2 separate regions of the Homo sapiens genome follow, and region 1 is linked to region 2. Evidence: promoter capture Hi-C in human tissues and cell types (Jung and others, 2019). All regions are on one chromosome and are shown on one strand. Each heading gives the region's core, a stretch centred on a gene start or on the middle of the fragment in contact. The rest is flanking DNA. Distances are from core to core; before and after follow the strand shown. Region 1 overlaps FAM91A1 (family with sequence similarity 91 member A1). Region 2 holds the start of ZHX1 (zinc fingers and homeoboxes 1).

Evidence for each region. The method cuts DNA at HindIII sites, captures the fragments that hold promoters and counts their contacts. A contact is called where the count stands out against the background at its distance.
Region 1: a fragment that was not itself captured here is called in contact with the fragment with the promoter of ZHX1 in region 2 in 1 of the 25 tissues and cell types used here (IMR-90 fibroblasts).

What each region holds. Positions count from the first base shown.
Region 1 is chr8:123,782,967-123,790,233 of GRCh38, forward strand. It overlaps FAM91A1 (family with sequence similarity 91 member A1), which reads left to right. Exons shown (of 24, transcript NM_144963.4): 9 at 1,504-1,610; 10 at 2,115-2,153; 11 at 2,663-2,775; 12 at 3,529-3,644; 13 at 4,295-4,407; 14 at 4,698-4,784; 15 at 6,647-6,779. Among named protein-coding and RNA genes, the nearest start is that of FAM91A1, 18 kb to the left of the region's middle. The HindIII fragment of the contact is 4,773 bases long and covers 1,217-5,989 here.
Region 2 is chr8:123,271,290-123,278,086 of GRCh38, forward strand. It overlaps ZHX1 (zinc fingers and homeoboxes 1), which reads right to left and starts at 2,997. Exons shown (of 4, transcript NM_007222.5): 1 at 2,928-2,997. It overlaps ZHX1-C8orf76 (ZHX1-C8orf76 readthrough), which reads right to left and starts at 2,997. Exons shown (of 6, transcript NM_001204180.2): 1 at 2,928-2,997. RefSeq lists silencers at 2,254-2,621, 2,658-2,857, 3,058-3,747 and an enhancer at 4,228-4,347. The HindIII fragment of the contact is 11,288 bases long and covers 985-6,797 here.

The DNA.
Region 1 (7,267 bases), core at 2,353-4,852, 510 kb after region 2:
CGAGACCAGCCTGGGCAATATAAAGGGACCCCTTCTCTACAAAAATAAAAATGAAAAGAATTAGTCATGCGTGTTGGCATGTGGCTGTAGTCCCAGCTACTTGGGGGACTGGGGCAAGAGGATTGCTTGAGCCTGGGAGGTCGAAGCTGCAGTAAGCCACAATCCCCACCCTGCATTCCAGCCTAGGTGACAGAGTGAGACCCTGTCTCAATAAATAAATAAATAAATAGATACATTTAAAAATAGGGGTAATTATACTACTGTACAACCCACGGAGTTAGGAGGATTAAATGAAAATGTATATATAAAGTACTTGGTAATAGCCTAGCACTTAGTAAGCATTCAATAAATGCTATTATTATTTACATAGCTGATAGTGTAGGGAAATAATTAATGTTGTCAAAGACGGGATTTCTAAAATATTTCTAAAAAGAAACCATTGATCATTAAAAGTACCTAGATGACTAGAAATATAGGTAGTACTAAATTAGAAAATGACATGAGCCAGATCTGTAAAGTGAATAACCTATCCTCAGATGTATGTACATTGTAGTTTTTCAGTGTCTCAGTTTTGACCATTTGAATTTTGTCTTATTTTTCACTATTAGGAATAATTTAAATTTTTGGGTACAATTAGATGATATTAGGGCCAGGGGACATAAAGATACCCAAATGCTACTATGGCCTAGGCATTCCTCCTTCTCAGGATATTTTCAGGGTGAATGTACCCACAGGGGAGAATGGCAAAGGAAAGCATAGAGCTTGTTTTTTATTGGCTGGGCAGAGCACTTTGGTAAATCAGATTAGAACATTTGGACCAAAGAGATAGAAGTGAGTATGAATGAACATTCAGGTGGAGAGTGATGGTTGGGCTGCCCACTGTGCTAAAGGGGATCTTGACCCTGTTGCCACTGAGGCCCACTGGGGAGGATACCAGAAAAGAAAGCCCCAAAGAACGAGTTAGCCCAGTGACTTCTGGTAAACATGATGGTCATGCAGATGAATTTCCATTTTTAGGATGGAGTAGGGATGATGGGGAGACAGAGCCAATACTTTGCATCCACCTGGTTTTCGTATAGCGTAGCAACTCTTTCTTGCAGTCATTTGCTTTTCAGCTTTGGCCCACTCACCCCTGCTGCCTATGAGGCATCAAAAACACATGTATCAGAAACCCTTTGCAGGCTCCCCCATTCTGAAGCAGCCCCTGTTCCCTCACCCTTCTACCAAGTCCATGTCATCCAGCATTTCTGAGTTACCTGTCTCAGTAACTCTGAGTTCCATGGTGAATTAAATGAACTCTGTGGATTTCGTGTCTACCTTCAGAGTCTTCTCTGTGTACGTATTGTAGAGTTTCAGAAAACTTGCTATGGAGTGGATAAATAAATCAAAAGCTGCATTCAGTCCCTAAGTTAGAGGTTTCTTTTTTTAATTAGATATGTAAATTATACTTTCTTGTTTTATAAAATCTGTACCACTGAGAAAAATCTCTTCTGTTTGTTTTAGTTCCACCTCTTGAAGGTTTTGTAATGAATCGAGTGCAAGGTGATTATTTTGAAACTCTACTCTATAAGATATTTGTTTCAATAGATGAGCACACAAATGTTGCAGAGGTAAGTTTGACAACGTCTCATGAAAATATAATCTCAAGATTGTAAGTTTGTGTAAAGTAAGTAAAGTTATTTAATATGGTAGTATCTTTTTAAAATCTCCATGTGGGGAGATCATACCATTATTACACTTAAATGTCATTATTCTTAACGTTCTTATAAATGTATATTAAAATTTAAGTTAATAATTTATAGTTTGGTTAACTTTTTATATGACTTTTTGTACTAAAGTATTGTAGACTATATTGATCTATCCAGGAATTTTATTTTAAATGAGACGAAATTAAAGAGTAAGGAATCTTAAATTGTTATGGTCACTCCATGGATTTGTACTATAAGGATCTTAGAGATAGGGAAAGAAGAAAGTTCTGAATTCAAAATTTATTCAGTCTTCTAATTATTCATAACTTAAAATTTTGCTGATTATGATTATATTGGTCTATTACAACTGTGTAATGTGCTGTTAATTCTAAGAATGTAAAAATAAATTTTAATTTTATCTTCTAGCTTGCAAATGTCCTTGAGATTGACTTATCCCTGGTTAAGGTATGTTATTTTTATACTCATTTACTGGTGATGTGATAACTGAGTGGATTTTACTAGTAGATTTTTATCTTGATAAGCTACTGAGAAACGAAGACATTGAGATTGTTGTTAGCTGTCTGAGAGAACGTGCACAGTAAAGGGGCACTTGCAAAGACAGGAAAGAGCAGGAAAAGGGGCCCTAAATTGGGATTCAAACACATGGACTGAAAAGAGAGCACTCATGCAAGAAGCAGCCCAAGCAGTATCTTGTAGTGAGGTCCGTTAAAGCAACAACTCCTGCTTCATTAGGGGTAGATGTAGGGAGGGCAAGGCCAGAGAGTTGGAAACATTCCCTCCTATACATTTATGAAGACTTCAAGGGAGGAGCAGGTCTACTGAAAATAGTTTCTGGTTACGGGATGAAAATGTTTGAGAATCACTATTAGTCTATTACACTATTTTTTCTCTACAAATATTGTGATGTCTAGTTTATTTTAAATGGTAATTAGTTTCCTTTATATTCCTTTCAGAATGCTGTTTCAATGTATTGCCGATTGGGCTTTGCCCATAAGAAGGGACAAGTAATTAATTTGGATCAACTTCATTCATCATGGAAGAATGTTCCATCCGTAAACAGATTAAAGTAACTTAAATTTATTCAGTATGAGCTATTAGAGTTTCCTTTTGAAAAGACATTTAATTTTACATACATAAATTTATTTATTTATTTATTTATTGAGACAAAGTCTCTCTCTGTCATCCAGGCTGGAGTGCGGTGGCGCGATCTCGGCTCACTGCAACCTCCACCTCCCCGTTTCAAGCGATTTTCATGCCTCAGCCTCCTGAGTAGTGGGGACTATAGGTGTGCACCACCATGCCCAGCTAATTTTTTGTGTTTCTGTTAGAGGTGGGGTTTCACCATGTTAGCCAGGCTGGTGTCGAACTCCTGGCCCCAACTGATCCACCCACCTTGGCCTTCCAAAGTGTTGGGATTGCAGGTGTGAGCCACTGCACCTGGCCCAGAAATTTTATTTATTCAACCTGTCAGTTGAGGTGAGCCCTTTATATTAGTGATTTTTAATCTTGTGTGTGTGTTACAGATCTTTTTTGGAATATAATGAAAACTAAGAAGGCTTTTCCCAGAAAAAAAGCAAATAAATATTTTACATAAAATCTTGAAGGGTTCTTGAATTTTCTGAAGCCTATCCGTGGATCTTAGTTAAGAACCCTTGTTGTATGTAGGCAGAGCATTTTTGGGCTGCGACTTAATTTTGGGCTTGAATATAAGACTGAATTTTGATGGATTGTTCATAATTTAAGTCTTAACTTCAGTAGATATTTTAATGTAAGGTCATTTATATGATTTTTAAAAAGCAAATGCATTCTTCATTAATAGGAGTACCTTAGATCCACAGAAGATGCTCTTGTCATGGGATGGAGGGGAAAGTAGGAGTCCTGTACAAGAAGCTTCATCGGCAACTGACACTGATACAAATAGTCAAGAAGATCCAGGTTAGCAGTAACTCAGTTTAACATAGAGTCTGTCTGTAGGTACGGCACATGTCCAAACATACACTCTTACAGTTACCTTCTAATTTTAGTTTAGATTTTATTCAATACGCAGTCTTTGAGTGTTTTACTATATTTTGGGCACTGTGCTAAGTCCTAGGTATATAAAACTGACAAGAATATGGTACCTTTCTTCTAAGAATTAAGTCTAAGGAGAGAGAAGGGAATGTGACCAAACAAATTACAACAACACGGGCACCAATTATAATGCTTGTAGGGTGCAAAGAGGAAGAGACCCTTAATTGGCTAGAGAGGTTTGGGAAGCCTTCACAGAGAAGATGTTATTTGAGCTAAGAATGAAGAAGAGCCTGCCAGCTGGTCAGGGAAGGAAAGCCATTTCAGCCCGAGAGAATAGTGAGGCTAAGCCCAAAGGGAAACACAGCATAGTGGACAAGGCCTAGGGTTAAATGCTTTTTAATATTCTTTGCGCTTCAAAATAGGTATGGCTGGAACTTCTTATGGCTATAATAGTGCCTTTTTAAAATTATGTACTTTCTGGTTATCAAATAAAGCTGAAATGAAATACTTTCACTCCAAATGGTAAGCAAAGAATAATTTCCATTTACTTGATTTTAAATTATGGTGTTTTTCAGCTGACACAGCCAGTGTAAGCAGCCTGAGTCTGTCTACAGGACACACGAAGCGCATCGCATTCCTGTTTGACTCCACTCTTACTGCCTTCTTAATGATGGGAAATCTTTCACCAGTAAGCCCAATTCTTGTTTAAATATGAAGGTGTTTAAAATAAATACTAGATATAAAATAATTTAATGCTTTTATATCTTTTTTAAAGTACTACATTTATTCCCGAAGCACAACTGACTTAGAGGAGTATAATAACTTTCAGGGAAGGTCCTTTTGTAATTGGAAGAATTAGCCCCTCACCCCCCAATCCTTAAGTTTAAATATATTTGAAAGGATAATATAAATATTTGATAGTATGCTTAGCATAAAAAGGGAGAAGTAGAACTTTAATATTTTGTTTCTTTTTTTCAGAACTTGAAAAGTCATGCAGTCACAATGTTTGAAGTAGGCAAACTCTCAGATGAGTCTCTGGACAGCTTTCTTATAGAACTAGAAAAGGTAAATGTAGATTGCATGTAAGGGGATGTTAGGGCATTTGGAATCTGTCCTTGCTTGACAGAATGCCAATTATACAGTCTGTTGATTTGGATGGGCTTTCAGTGTATTCTTGCTCGTTCCTACCTCATTCCCCAAATTAGTACTCTTACAGTCATTTAGACTTAAACATATTGAGTGGGTGAATTGATTTTGTGATTTTTAAAGTGATATGTCTACCTCATCTAATTCTTAACATAATTTGAGATAATGAAGAAATGGGGTATAGAAATTTTAGTCTGTAATGTTTTAAGTTGAATTTTTGCTAAAATAGCCTTTCAATTTTTTTTCTGGTATGACTCTCTAAGATCACCTCTTAAGCAGTTTGATTTGAAGTTTTTGTTCCATTTACCTTGAATCTGGAACAATATCCCTGGGTATCATATTTATGTCCGCTCTCACTATCCCTTTTAGCATCTTGAAGACTTCAGCCATATTTGCTCTTAACCACCTTTTTCCCCGTGAGTACAGCCCTAGTTTTCCTTAGCTCTAAATAAATCTGATTGCCCTTTATTGGTGTTTTTCATTCTTCGGATATTTTATTCTGGCCTCTTTGTATTCAAATAGTTTGTGTGCCTAATCTGTTCCTTGACTAATACTTTTCGTGCCTTTTGTGCTTTATGATGAACTTTGTATTTTCAATGCACTGTTTAGAGAATTTGTGGTGATTCTGCAACTCCTTTATATCTTAAAAAAAAAAGACTGTAACATTTTTCACTGCTCCTACTCCATAGGATTTTTACTTTTATTAGTGCAGAAATATGTGTGAGATAATCCTTTGCTATTAATTGGTCTCTTTTACTTTTACCTTTATACTGCCATTTATTTCTTCATGCTTCTTTATTTGTTAACCCCATTTCTTATTGTATATTATCTTCTACTAATAAATTTCTTACTATGTTACTGCACATTTCAAGTTCTGGTTTTCTGATTTTTATCTTTTTTTCACCTCAGCTAGTCTTTTATCAAATGTAGCAAATTGCAAGTTGACTTCTGCTCTTTTACTCATAAATCTATGTTCTTTTTCATCACAAAGTCATTCTTGGGAAAGCCTTTCAGTCTGAGGCTTAGTTTTTAAAGTGGATTCTTAGCTATTTTTTAAGTAGTTTGATCTTAAGATTGATTTCTTAAATGTATGCAAATCTGATTTAGTTATTTTCCCGTTGGTAGACCTATCATTCCATTTTCTGTGTTGTTTCTGGGATATATGTCTCTACTTATTAAAAGGTGACTTATTCAGACTTATTCAGAAGAGCATACATTAAACTATAAGGCCAGTGAAGGCAGGGGTTTTGTCCATTACTCTATCCTTATCTCCTAGGGAGGTCATAGTCCATAGGAGGCACTAAGTAAATCTTTGTTGAGTGAATTTAAGCTGTGTGTTCAGCAATGGTGAACAGCTATGTTGAATCACAGACTCCAGTGTCTCTTGTAACTGGTAATACAGAATTGTGAACAAAGTTATGAGAATTATAGGTAAAACTGGTGACCTTGGAGTACTTTCCTAGATGGAGCAGAATACGGGTTTTAGAGTTGTTTAAGCACTCTATTTGAATCATTTGGAACATGTAACATATAATGCTATAACTTAGCATTATTCAATTGCTAAAATTGTTAGTCTTAGTTGAAGTAATTTCTATCTCCATAGATGTAGTAAAATTGGGAACTCAACCAAGACTGAGGTTAATAACTTGTTTCGGTATTGCCTGGGCAAATTTTTGATTTACTACTTTTGAATAATGTCTTATATCTCTATTATATGATTATTAGAGTGAATGGCATAAAAGTGGTATTTTTGTTGCAAAATCTATTTTCTCTTGGTTTAGGTTCAGAGCACTGGTGAAGGAGAAGCACAGAGATATTTTGATCATGCACTTACTCTGAGAAACACAATACTGTTTCTGCGTCATAACAAAGATCTAGTTGCGCAAACTGCACAGCCAGACCAACCCAATTATGGTATGATAAATATATTTAATTTTGAAGACATGATCATATGAAACTTTTTTCTAAGAAATTAAACAGATCATGCTCACTTATATAATCATCACTTACGTATTTTGTGTAGATAGCATATTGAATTTATAACTAGAGGCCTGTTTTGTGAATTTCTTGCTTGTTAACTGTTTCTTAACCTTATTTTACTTTTCTCATGTGCCACTAACATTTGTAGTATTTAAATCTGTTCAATACCTGCAAAAGTGTTGGTGTTAATTTATTTAAGTAGCTGGATGGAATTTAGAACAGGCATCAGCTCTGAGGGGTGAACAAGGGCAAAATTTTAGTTAATGTAGGAAGCATAAAATTTCAAGAATGAAAGATTCCATCATAATGAAAAGAATAAAGAGGAGCCTTCTGTTCAAATGCTACTGCAATACTTACCAAAAGATTTTACTTTTAAAAAGGAAATAGATAATTCTTTTTAAAGAGTAAAAGAAGTAGCAGCA
Region 2 (6,797 bases), core at 1,747-4,246:
TTAACAGTAAATGTGCTTATCACAACATAAATAAATATTTATAATGATTTAAAAAATGTGTATTACTGGCTAGCACCATAAACAGTACAATAGATAATTCCAAAAATCTCTCTGAATAATTGCACTGACTATGATATTAGATTAAAAACTAGGTGCTGAACTTTCAACACTGTTTATTTAAGTAAAGTCTTTGGGCCCAAATCCACAATGCTGCAACACAAATAAAAGGGTTATTTCCTCAGCTACATTTGTGATCATTTTAATAATTTTAAAAGCATTTTCATTTAAGTATTAAGTTATAATTTACAGCAAACTAAGTCTCAAATATCACATTTTATGCTTAATTAGCATAAGAAATATAATACATCATAATATAACCTTTCCATCTTAATATAAAATATAATAATACAAAAGGGAGAAAAATCTTCAAAATGAACCACCTCTCCTATGCTATTAATTTCGCTAATAACTGTAAAACTTTGTCCCCAATTATTGAAAAAAAAAGAACTTACAATTATCATTAAAGGTGAAATAATTGCTACATCATGCATGAACTACCCCCCAAATCCGGTGAAATAATAAGCTTAGCTATAAAGGAAAGAAATCCACTAATGAGTGTTCACTAGCACAGGCACATTTATGTTTTCGGATTTAGCATATTTTCAAACCATCTGGCATTAATGCCTCTCTGGTTCACCCAGCCTAATCTGTTCAGAATTGAATATAAAACCAGAGCTACATGAACATTGAGGAAACCAAAGAACAGCACACGTGCATAAAATGTTCCAAATGTAAAGTTCTAAACTAGTTTCTATTTGAACTGTATCTTTAAAACATTTCCATTGAAGACGTTAAAGCTCTTTCGAAAATACAAGAATGGTTCAAGAAATCTCTATGAATCATCACTATCATCAGTTACCCAAGTATTACCCTTTCTCATTTTAATCCTGATTGTCAAATAAGGCGTCTGAAGAGGTACTTCAACAAAAAAGATTCATTGATAACTGAAATGCTATCATTTTATATCGAAAAGGTCCACGATTATACATTTTACTTTGTATAAAATTAGTCTGCTTAGCCTTAACATGCTTTGGGAAAGGAGAGAAAAGCTAAAAGGAAAAAAATATTCATGAAAGCCCTTTTTCTTTTATGTCCTGTTACCGCATTATTGTCATTGGCAGCACTCACATTTCTTTTGCTTAAAATCAGGAGTCAGAATTGCTACTTTAGAAATTAAAATAATCGATGGGTATACTAGGGCCAATTTCCCTGTTAAAACCAACTCCTGCTCACCTTCGCTCCCGACATAAAAACAAATGACTTTTTCAGAATAATTTTTCAGAAACGAAGATAATTAATGTAGCACCATATAACACAAATTAAAGCTTTCAGACAAAGACTGAGAAACAATGACCAACACCAGCAAATCTAAAGTGCTCTTATATATGTATACACACAACACACACACACACCCCAAACCAAATATTCACTGTTCCTGGGGGGAGACTGCTTCTTCCTCCCTAACCGTGAACCGCTGTATATTTTCCAATTTTGTGATTTTCCTTTTTCTGCTATCACATTAACCTCCAAGAGAACTGCTTAAGTTACATGGAATCCCAACCTAATCACATCACGACTTCTCTCTCAGCCTTTACATTTTTCTCTCAAATATTAGCTCTTCGCATTTTTTTTTTTTTCTAATAGCTGGGCTGAGTTGACAGAAAAGGGCTGTGGAATTCCTGCTCTGTCCGATATCTTCCCTGTATTCCTCTTTTCTCATCCCTAGTCTCTGTTCTAATTCCCCCGCCTGCTGTCTCTCATTGACGCCTTCCCAGCTGCTGGATCCTTCACTAACCTAAGCTAAGGATATCAAATGGAATCTTTTCCTTCTCAGGGGCTATGCTCTTTCCTTACAGTTACCCACGGAGGAGAGAGGACAGGAAAGGTACTAAAACAAAGAATTGCCAAGTCCCTTTACCTCCAACTTTGGTGTAAATATATAAGGAAAGGGGATCTGCCAGGGCTCTTCTTTCCTGCCCTTAGACCTTGTTCCTCTCACACCTCTCCTTCCCAGCCTTTTATACCCCTTGAGGTATTAGTAGATTGTTCACTGTGGGCCCTAAGGCTTGGAGGATTCCCATGGGTCAGCCCCCACACCCCCACGCCCCTACCATCCTCTTTAATTAACTTCTCCCTAAATCCCAGGGCTTCGTCACAATCGTAATATGGTTCTTAAGGACTCAACTCCCAGTCTTTCCCAAAGTTGGGACATGGCCTGGCCCCGAAACGGGTGCGCATAGCCTTCCTTGAACTGGAGGTAAAGACTTCTCCTGAAGGGTTTGCTGGGGCTCCAACCTCAGTCAGTGCGCTCAGCTCCAGCAAGAGAATCTCTCCTTACTCTCAGGGAGACTGGGTCCCCCACGAGGCAGCCACACGCCCCCGGAGGACAGCGCTCCTGACCTCCTCTAGGACTCCCAACATTACTGGGGTGCTCCCTCCGGCGGCGCCCTCCGCTGGGAATACGCAGTCTTCACTCCTCTCAACAATCCTAAGTTGCTGGGTCCTCACCAAGGCAGGGGGCTGAGATGTTCCCTCCAGAGAGCCCCCCGCCCCCAAGCTCTTTCGGTGGCGGAGACACCCAAAAAGAGCGAGGGAGGCTGTGGGTCTGTCTGTCCCTCTGCGGCGACTACCCAGCCGCGAGGCAGGCCCCGTCCCTCCCCCTCGGACGCCCCACGCCGGGTCCACCCCGCCACCCGCCGCCGCGAGCGGGCTCAGCCCCAGGGGTCTCTGCTGTGAGGCTGCCCTCCTCCCGCCAGGCCCCGCGCTACTCGCCTTTCCCGTGCCGGCCGCGGACTCTGCGCTCCAGTTCCCACCCGCAGCCCAGAGTCTCCGGGCCCGCTGGTCGCGGAGCCGGCTCGCGCCACTACCTGCAGGGGCCGCCGCGCCTCTCAGCGCCACGCCGCCGCCATCTTGCATTTCAAACCGGCTGCACTTTTCAGGGAGTCAACTCTGACCTGTGAACCCTAAACCCGGAACCGCTCGGCGGGCCCGCAAAGGGGCCTCAGCAGCTCGGTGGCCCCGCGGAGTGTGGGGACTCAGGGTGGGGGTGCGAGGAGAGGCGCGCGCCCCAGCGGCCGTCCGGGGGCGGAGGGGGAAGGGAGAGAGCCGGCCAAGGCGGGGCCCTCCCGCGCGCGCGTCCTCCGCGCGCCCCCACCCCGTGCGGCGCCGAGCTCTCCACGCCCAGACCCTGCTACTCCACTGGGGTCCGACCCCGGCCCCTAGTCCGGGGATTGGCGCACCGCGGGAGGTAGGGAGGCGCCCCGCCCCCCTGTCAACAGAAGCCCCGCCCCAGACTGCGGAAGCTCCGCCCCCTGTCAGGAGACGCCCCGCCTTCCCAGGGCTCGAAATGGCCCCGCCCTTTGCCTGCGACCGCTCCGCCCGCTGTGGACTGAAGCCTGGTCTTCTCTCGGGTCAGCACAGAAGGCAGCCCCGCCTTCCTTGCGCTCCGCCTTCCTAATGTCACTGCTGGATCGTGAGAGGTAAGCATGCTGGCTTCTACTGAAACGCCCCTTGTCATCACACGCCCATCCCCTGGGGCGACACGACCCAGGCCCCGCCCCTCGGGGGGCTGCTGCGAGTCCGGCCGGGAGCCCAGCGCCCTGACAGAAGTCGCCGCGCCCCTTGTCAGCGGCAGCTCCACCTCTCCTCGCTTCGGACCCCGCTCCTCCGCGGGCCGCAGCTCCACCCGCTGACACCGAAAGTTCAGTTCAGCTGCACTCAGAACCGCCGGGCAAGGCGGAGCCGCCCTCTGCCCCTCAGCCGCCCTCCTCCCTGCGAACCGCCACTCGCTCTTCCAGAGGCTTCTGTCCGAGTCGAGGGCTTCACATCCCGTCGGCTTTCAGGGAACCAGCCCCGCAGCGGGGCCAGCGAGGGCCAGGGGTTTCGGGAACACTGCCCGGCGTCTCCGCCCCTCCCTACTCACTTTCCCTTTCCCCCGCACCGCGGTCAGAACGTGGAGGAACAGAACCAAAGCGGAGAGCGGCGACTCACCCTCCAGCTGCTCCACACGCCGGGCCTTGGACGCTCGAGCGCTCCTGGGCCCCTTGACGTTCACTCCCCACCCCCATCCCAGTCGCGGACCCTTTGTGCAGAGCTCCGCTGAGCCACAGTAATCCTAAAAGCACAGCAGAGCTCCGCTGAGCCACATTAATCCTAAAAGATGCAATTGCTTCAAGTGGAAGTCTGATTTTTTTTTTTTTTTTGAGACGGAGTCTCGCGTTGTCGCTTAGGCTGAAGTGAAATGGCGCGATCTCTGCTCACTGCAACCTCTGCCTCCCGGGTTCAAGCGATTCTCCTGCCTCAGCCTCCCGAGTAGTTGGGATTACAGGGGCCCGTCACCTAACGCCGGGGTAATTTTTGTATTTTTGGTAGAGACAGGGTTTCGCCATGTTGGCCAGGCTGGTCTTGAACCCCTGAACTCAAGTGATCCGCCAGCCTCGGCCTCCCAAAGTATTGGGATTACAGGAGTGAGCCACCGCGCCTGGCCGTGGAATCTGATCGTTGAAATCAGTGTTCTACAATATTCTTTTTATTTGTAGGTTTCATCCTGGAATCCTAAAACTTGTGTAGGATAAGGCTTAATTTTATAAGCAAAGGTATTCAACCCTGCCACATTCAATGCCCTGTATTTACAACAAAAAATATAACACTGCTTTACTCTTCTGGAGTTAAATTCCTAATGCAAACTATCTCTACAAATAATTTCAAGAAACCAATGTAATGTTCTAATAAAGGTGAAAAAGGAGAAAGTAGTTCATAATAAAATACTGTATGTACTAATATCAAGAAAAATTTTAAAATAACAGAGTTTTCACAATGTAAATACTCTGCCACCAATAGAATGCAAAACAAAAACTGTCCCGGCAAAATTTCAGTATGCCCCTGAGGGGCAGTACTGCCCTCGCTGGGAACCTCTTTAGACCGAGGAAGAGGTCTGGAAATGCTTCAAATAGAGAAATTCATTCTTTTGTCTACACAGTTAATGACAAGTTTTCTTTTGTTGTTGTTGTTGTTGTTGTTTTTGAGACGGAGTCTCGCTCTGTTGCCCAGGCTGGAGTGAAATGGTGCGATTTCGGCTCACTGCAACCTCTGCCTCCTGGGTTCAAGTCATTCTTCTGCCTCAGCCTCTTGAGTAGGTGGGATTACAGGCGCGTGCCACCACACCCGGCTAATTTTTGTATTTTTAGTACAAACGGGGTTTCACCATGTTGGTCAGGCTGGTTGCGAACTCCTAACCTCGTGATCCGCCCTCCTTGGCCTCCCAAAGTTCTGGCATTACAGGTGTGAGCCACCACACCCGGCCGATGACTAGGTTTTGTGTGTGCCAGTATATGCCAGGCACTGTGGGAGATGTACAGCTGAGTTAGTCAACTTTCCTGTCTTCCAGGAACTTACAATCAAGTAGCCAAGCAAAAAACAGGAGCATAAAGATGTGTCAAGTGAAAGATGAGAAGAGACCCCTTTAGGGATGTGGAGCTGTTGACTGTAACTTCACATTTTACCCCCACTTCCTCCCTCACTTTATTCTTCCTTCTCCTCTTCTACTTTAGCACTAGTTTATAGAGTCACCTCCTCCTCCCTATAAGCTGTCTCCCTGGTTCACTGCCCAATGCCAGCCATCCAGAATTCTCCCAGTTTAGGGTCATGCCCACAGGGCAATTCTGTCCAAGAAAACACAGTGCTGAGAACAATGTCCTTAGCTGAATTGCTGCCAATTACTTGGTATCCTTCTACAAAGCAAGACTGTTATCATCACCACTCAAAAAAAAAAACTGGTTGCAGACTTAAGCAATATGAATATATGTTTAGCATAGCAGATTGTGCCAGCCCACATAAATCTGCTTAGAGATCAGGCTCACAGAGTAACTTGTTTTTATTAAAATAAATTCATTTATAAAAATTGTAAATATGATGGATTTTAACAGCTGCGTGGCTCCAGGAGTTTTTTTTTTTAACCATGGATTGGCACAATTAGAAGTCTAGATTTTTTTTATGCATATGTTTTGCAGTTTGTCATACTCAAACTGGTATGGCAAAACTTCAGTACTCTTAGAGATAGAAGTTGTTCAGCAGGTTTTAAAAAGCACAGCACTTTTGCTATTCAGAGCCTCTTCCACCTTTGGAACAGTGAAAAAAAAATATTGGTAGGAAATGAAGAGCTTTGGATAAAAAGTTCTAAGCTCTGGTGTCATCTGAAGAGGAATAGGCTTCCAACAGCACTTTTTGTAGTAGTTCCCTTCTGTTATTATTTTTCCTTTTTCCACTTTTTGTGAAAAAGTCTTTTTAAAAACATGATACCATGAAATAGACCAGCCAAAAAGACATCAAACTAAGACACTTTAAACTTTTGACTACAGTTAGGTGAACTTAAGAATTTAGCCCTAGTGAAGTGCTCCCACTATTTTCTGTAATGGCTACATTAGAAGGTGAACAAAAATGTTCCTACTAAAACTAGTTCAGGCTGAATAAACTTTCTAAGACAGTTTAGGGGTCAAGCCATTTCCTGTTTCTCTTAGTGCTTGCTCTGTGAAAATAATAATGTTATTGGTAATAACAACAGTAAAAACAAGTCAATATTCTTGGTACTTGTAAAATTCCTTCCCACTCCACTCTTTCCCTCTACTTCTAGCATAGGACCATATATAGTACTACAGGACTATAGATGCAAAACAAGAAAAACAGAGAGGAAAACTGATTTTCCAGTATTCATTCAAAGAGTAACACATTGATACACTTTA